Regions from separate parts of the Homo sapiens genome. Here region 1 is linked to region 2. The links are contacts of gene promoters, found by promoter capture Hi-C in blood cells and fetal thymus (Javierre and others, 2016). All regions are on one chromosome and are shown on one strand. The core of a region is centred on a gene start or on the middle of the fragment in contact, and the rest is flanking DNA. Distances in the headings are between cores, read along the strand shown. Region 1 has its middle 32 kb from the start of PSD3. Region 2 holds the start of SH2D4A (SH2 domain containing 4A).

Region 1 (3,259 bases), core at 67-2,566, 270 kb after region 2:
ATTTATCCTAGGGCATGAATCCTTAATGGTGGAATTTTATCATCTGACTAGAGGATATTTTATAATAAATGAGCATCTTGTGGCCTCTCCAAGGCAAGGATTCTGAATCCTTTACTTGCGGTGAAATCTATACAATGCATTACTGTACCCTGGAGGCCACAGGGAGGCCACATGAAGGCTGTCCCAGGGCACAGAGAACTGCAGAGTTAGAGAGGGACCTCCAGGCTTGCAAATCAGGAGTGCGTTTTATCATCAGCAAATCAACAGCTGAGTGGCACTGAATTTCTCTGCCGAGGCTCTTAAGCACCTAGTTTAGTTTCTGCTTCCTGCAAAGAGATTTATGTCCCTGTGTAGCAGAGGAATAAGAGGCCTGCTGGCAACGAGCCCCGGAGAGGGAGTGGGATATGCAGAGGATACACTGATAAATGTAATTGCTGGAAGCTGTTGGTCCCAGGGCTGCCAGCCCTAAGATTTAACCCCTAACTCTCCAGGTAGTATATGGTACAACCCACTCTTGATGAGAGACAAGTGTTCACCTGAGATGCAAACTTGAGAATTTTGCTGCTGTCACTACCCAGTTTAAGGCCTTTTTTTCACTGCAGGACAAACTATTTCACTTGCCAAGGCTTGAGTGATGTAAGCTTCATTATTAACTACTGTTCAGCAGTGTCGACAGTATTTCTTTGAAATTTCTTTTGTCAGCTTTAACAAAACCTCATCAGATCTTACTGAAAGGATTGGCATCTGGAGCTTTATTTGGTAATCCAACATTGCATCAACTCAGAAGACAAAGGAGCTTGAGCTTGTCTTGGAAACTCAAGGCAAAGTTATACTTGGGCATTTCAAAAGGCAGAAAGAAATGGTAAGGAATACAGTGCCAAGATTGAGTAAGAATAGGCATGGCCCTTTGTTGAGCCTGACCTCAGCCAGATGCATGATGCTGGGAACTTAACTCATTTGTTGAATGAATAAGTGATGGCCCAATAAAGGAAATCGGTTGCTGCTAAAATGATGAAAAGGTCAGAAGTATAAGATCTAGTTACCGGCCAGGCACGGTGGCTCAGCCTGTAATCCCAACACTTTGGGAGGCTGAGGCGGGCAGATCACGAGGTCAGGAGTTCGAGACTATCCTGGCCAATATGGTGAAACCCCGTCTCTACTAAAAATACAAAAATTACCCAGGTGTGGTGGCACGTGCCTGTAGTCCCAGCTACTCTGGAGGCTGAGGCAGAAGAATCGCTTGAACCTGGGAGGTAGAGGTTGCAGTGAGCCGAGATCAGGCCACAGCACTCTGGCCTGGGCAACAGAGTGAGACTCCATCTCAAAACACCACCAACAACAAAAGATCTAGTTACTTCACCCTTGTTCTATACAATGTTTTCTTGTTTCTTATTGTGTAATCCCTATAAGAGTTTGCTTCCCCAAACTTAACTTGAAATTAATTTCAACCATCCTTGGTAATCATCTTTTAGGGGCAGAGGATAAGGGATGATGGTTATAGCCAGAAAGGAGATTTAAAAGAAATGACTTGAGAATCTAGTGATGATTAGACGTAATGCAAGCCCTGAATTCAACTGGGAATAAAAACACTTACCTGACAGGTTATTGTGAGGATTTAATGAGAATGTTTATAAAGCATCTAGTGGAATGCTAGGACCTAGGAGGTGACCCACAAATGTTAACAGCATCTTCTCCACCCTCCCAACACTAGCTGGTTTTTGGCTAAATCAGATGGCTGGATTCTTTTCCTTCCTTCCATTTCTAGGATTTCCTTCCCCTTTAAATGGAGAAGGTGTTCCTGAAGTAAGGGATAATTACTTACTATCATTCTGTAAAGAGATCTAATCTTTGCCAGAGCAAAGAATTTCCTAATCACTTGGGTAAACTTCTGTAGAATCGGTCCTAGAAACCAGCTACTGAGCACTGCCGCTTTCAAGAGATCTGTGCTGTTGCTTAGAAATGCTTATTGTTTGTCCAGGAAAGAAGCTTGGCTGTGTTCAAGGGCGGCTGGCTACTGTCAGTCTCACCTCCCTTAACACTTTTGTTAAATTCAAAATGAGAGATATATGAGAGGGATATACAGGTCCCTTGTCAACTTTTTCTATTGTCTTGTGAATCTCTTGGTTTCATATCATATTCTCCTTAAAATTTTCCCTTTACTGACTGTAAGAAATAAAGTCCAAACATTCAAAGCTTTCACAATTCGGATATTACTTTTTTACTTTTCTTTTTCTTTTTCTTTCTTTCTGGGTTTTTGTTTTTTTGTTTTTGATGGAGTCTTGCTCCGTCACCCTGGCTGAAGTGCAATGGCATGATTTTGGTTCACTGCAACCTCTGCCTCCGGGGTTCAAGCAATTCTCCTGCCTTAGCCTCCCAAGTAGCTGGGACTACTGGTGTGCACCACCACACTCAGCTAATTTTTGTATTTTTAGTATAGACAGGGTTTCACGATGTTGGACTGGCTGGTCTTGAACTCCTGACCTCAGGTGATCCATCCACCTTGGCCTCCCAAAGTGCTGGGATTACAGGCATGATCCGCCATGCCCAGCCTGGACATTACTTTTCTTAAAAGTCTCATCTCCATCCCACCTTGGAACATGCTTAAGCCTTCACATTTTTCTATACAATCTTTCCCGTCTCTCCACCAAACTCCTATTCATCCTTGAAGAATCTCTTCTGTAAGGCTTTATGGTACCACTGAGCAAAGTTCTCATAGCACTTCCATAGTTCTTTCAATCTCACAGTACATTTGTGTTTTAATTATATTTGTATGTCGTTGTTCTCATTAGACAGCAAACTCCTAGAAACAATTACCTGGCGTTAAAAGTCTTAGTGACAAGATTAAGGACTATGGAATGACTTACAGTGAAAAAGAACAAAAGATACTTTACATTCATTTAATATCTGTAGTAGATGCTTTCTAGGATATAATTGATATAATATTATTTAATCTATTCAACAATCATGTAGGGATTAACACATTTACAGATTAGTCAATGGGCTTAAAGATAGAGTGATTTATTTAGACTAATTAAGGAAGAGCCTAGAATTGAATCCTATCTGACGCTCCAAAGCTCAGGCTCTTGCATTACACCAGGCTGGCTCAGGAAAGGGCAATTATATAATCAAAGGTACAGGCTGGCATTAGTAAATAGCGTGGATTGAGGAGAAAAAGCAGCTAGGAGACCGGAGCAGTAATTCAATAGTAAGGCAATGAGGGCCTAAATAAGATTAATAAATAGAGAACAATCAATGAAAG
Region 2 (3,541 bases), core at 682-3,181:
TGCTATTTATTCTGAACACCAATTGCTAAAAGGTCAGAGAATCCGTTGTTTTCCATGATACCATAGATTTGGCCTGATTCTCACACCTTCACACTGTTCTACAATACAACTGTCTTTTGAATAACTCTGAGACCTAAACAAAATACAATTTTAAAAGGCCTTAGATACAGGCTAAATCATAAAAATAGTAGGCGGGCACAGTGGTTCTACATGTAATCCCAACACTTTGGGAGGTGGACATGGGTGGATTGCTGGAGCTCAGGAGTTCAAGACCTGCTTGGGCAACATGGCAAAACTCCGTCTCTACATAAAGTATAAAAATTAGCCAGGCGTGGTGGCCCGCACCTATAGTCCCACCTACTTGGGAGGTTGAGGTGGGGGGATCTCTTGAGTTGGAGAGTTTGAGGCTACAGTGAGCCGAGATCGCACCACTGCACCACAGCCTGGGTGACAGAAGGAGACCCTGTCTCAAAAATTAAAAACATTAGGTCGGTGCAAAAGTTATTGTGTTTTACATGGCCAAAAAAAAAGTAACTGCGGTTTTTTTTACGTAAAAACCGCAATTACTTTTGCACCGACCTAATAAAATAAAAAATAAATAAAAGTATTGTGGTATGGACAGTGTAACTATAACATTAACAATACAGTTTGAATTCTAATTCTTTTAAAACAGCCAGCTCTGTGGTCCAACTTTGTTTTCTTATTGAAACTTTATCTTATTCATCTACCAGCAAAAGGGCTGTTTTTGAGGATGAAACAAATTACCAGAGATGACAGCAGTTTGTAAATATATACTATTCTTCAGAAATTTGAGATTACTGTACACACAGATTTAGTATACATAGAGAATTCCACTCATATGCCAAATCTATGCCCCTGTATGCTTTCCACTTATTTATTCACTATTTTAAAATAATCGTACCCAAGTCGTTGTTTCTATTAAACCAGCAATCAAACGAAAGCCTTTGGAGCGATGAGGAGCATCTGTTTGAAAGGGGGAGGTGCCACGCTTGCTGCTTCTCTAAGCTCCCTGGGAAGGGAGAGACAACTCAGAAAACCTACAAACTGTAGCTCCTTCCGGTGCCCGCGTGACCCCCGAGTCCAGGAGCGGGCAGGGGCGCCGCTTGGCTGAGCGCACTGGGCACCCGGTCTGGGTCTGGGCCAGCCCCGCCGCTGCAGCCCGAGGGAGGCGGCGCTGCACTGGCCTCCGCGCGCTCCCAGACCCCACGTGGGGGCGCCCCTGGGTGCCGGTGCGCGGGGAACGTGCTGCGGGGGTGCTGCGCCAGCTGCCACCGTTTCCCGGGACTTCCCTCCTGGAAGATTTCCATGCGCAAGTCGAGGACGTGCTCCTGCTAGGAGTCTAGAAACTCTAGGCCAGCCCGGACCCTCCCGGGGCCTGCACTCCCCGCGGGTGGAAGCACGCGCCGCGTGTCCCTGCCGGATTCCAGAACTTCCCCGAAGGTCCTCAGCCCCGGCAGACCCTCTCCCTCGAAGTTCCCCCGCCACCCCCTGCAAGCCCCCAGGCCCCGGGGACCGCCGCTCACCTAGCCAGCGGCTCCAGACACCGGACACCGGACACCGGACACCGGACACCCGCCGCGGCCGCTCTCGCCGCCCAACCCCGCACCTGAGCCCGCCCCGGGCGCCGCGAAGGGGTGGAGGCGGGGGTGAGGCTTCCGCCCGCCCGCTCTGGCCCCTGCGCCTCCCATGCACCCATGCAACCTCCGAGGAAATTCCCTTCCCCCTACTCCCACCCCACGCACACTCTCCCCAAAGCCTCGCCCCACCCCCAGCACCTACCAGTGCTGGGCGCCCCTGGGCAGGGTGGCTCGATCACCCGCCACATCCACTTGGCCGCCAGAAGCCGTCGGGGAAGGGAGGGAGGGAAAGGCAGAGGCGTCCCAAGCGGCGCAGGCGGGCTGAGCAAATACTCCGGCCCGGACGCAAAACAGCTCTTGTAGCCGTCCCGCCCGCGCCGCCCCGCCGCGCCCACATGCCGGGGTGACTGGCGGGGCGCAATCGCGGCCCCACCCGGGCGCCTGGAGGCTCTCCAGGGCCACTCGTCGGCGAGGCTGCGTGGCCTGCGCATCTCGGGCCGCCTGGCCCGCGCGCTGTCCCCGAGCTGCGGTAGTCCGGGGTAGGCTTGTCCTCTCCTCTCTTAGTTCATGAGACAGGGATCTGCAGTCTGTGATCTCTTGGGGACTGCAGGACTTAGATTAAATCTGCAGATCTGGGCCTTTCCACGTTTCAGAGCTCGGGGTTCCTTGCTAGGTGTAGGGTAGGAGGGTGCGCAGGCCCCACTTGTTCACTCTGCTTGGGTGCTGCAGGCCAAGGCGACTCTGGAGCTTTTTTTTTTTTTCTTTTGTTGACATTAAGTAAATGATCAAACTCTTTGGCACTTGTCGGTACACGTGTGGCTTTGTAGGACAAGATGAAGGAAGGAAAAGGCTGGAAGGAAGGAGACCGCAGTCAACACAGACAGGTGGAGAAAATGAAAGAAAACTGGGGGAAAAGTTAAGATGCTGAAAGGAGTCTTGAGGATTGCAACAAGAACAGGTTGGCTTGGTGCCTGAAGACGTCAGGGAGGAGCTGGCAGTCCACAGTTAGAGGAAATCTTGGAGGAAAATTGAGCAGAAGCACAGTGGAAAGGCATTTCCACTGGAGGGCATTTTCCATCCTAGAGGAGCATGTGGAAGAAAACCGCCTGCTTTGGTGAACCCCAGATTTTGTGTATTGGGAGAGATGTAATAAACAGTAAACACCAGTAGTCCTCTCCACGGACTACCTGACCTCTTTAGGAGCCTGACCTGCTGGATTCAAACACAAAATGGCATTTCCCTGCCTCTCCAAACTGCAGAAGCTGTGCAGAGTTACATCAAGCCTCGGGGCAGGCGGCATTGTCAGGAAATAAGACCCAGCTATTTAGGAACAATTCCAGGAATCCCATCAGGGAGGAATTTCTGGTGTAAGGCTTAGTTCCTACTGCAGTTTAAATGATAGCATATGGGGTGCTTTAGGCTGGAGTGGGATTGGCCCCTGGAAAGCTGCTATGACGAGGTCAGAATGAATCCTAGCCCTGCATGGATGCATCAGTTGAACCATACAGGGTGGTTTATCAGTTAGGAAAAATCCCACAGGACACTGTGACAGCCTACCTTCCTCACACCCAGTCTCTCTCCAGGTCCTGGCAAGTCCTTCCTTATAACAGCTTTATCACTGTGCTACTAACCTCTGTACCTCACTTTCCTCCTCTAGATAAAGAGTGTCTGCCTCGGTAAGTTGTCAAGAGGGTTAAATGAGATGCTACATGCAAAGAGATTAGAAGAGCTCTTGGCATGTGGTGAGTGTTCAAACACATTCACTCAGATCAGTTCATATCACATTAAGGTACTGGAATTCCACATTCCTGCCATCTCACCCTAGGCTGTGGGTTCTGCCCACCATGCCACCTACCTTCCAAGTCATTCCCAGGGATCCTATCCTCCTGGTATTCACATCCTTGCATAGCTCCCTGCCACTTTGTAAAGGTTGGTATGCTTGA

What was found. The method cuts DNA at HindIII sites, captures the fragments that hold promoters and counts their contacts. A CHiCAGO score of 5 or more calls a contact.
Region 1: a contact is called between a fragment that was not itself captured here and the fragment with the promoter of SH2D4A in region 2, in 1 of 17 cell types (M1 macrophages). The highest score is 6.0, in M1 macrophages.

What each region holds. Positions count from the first base shown.
Region 1 is chr8:19,044,194-19,047,452 of GRCh38, reverse strand. It overlaps a transcript of PSD3 not described here. Among named protein-coding and RNA genes, the nearest start is that of PSD3, 32 kb to the right of the region's middle. The HindIII fragment of the contact is 1,345 bases long and covers 644-1,988 here.
Region 2 is chr8:19,312,083-19,315,623 of GRCh38, reverse strand. SH2D4A (SH2 domain containing 4A) reads right to left here and starts at 1,931. Exons shown (of 10, transcript NM_022071.4): 1 at 1,801-1,931. The HindIII fragment of the contact is 8,347 bases long and covers 1-3,541 here.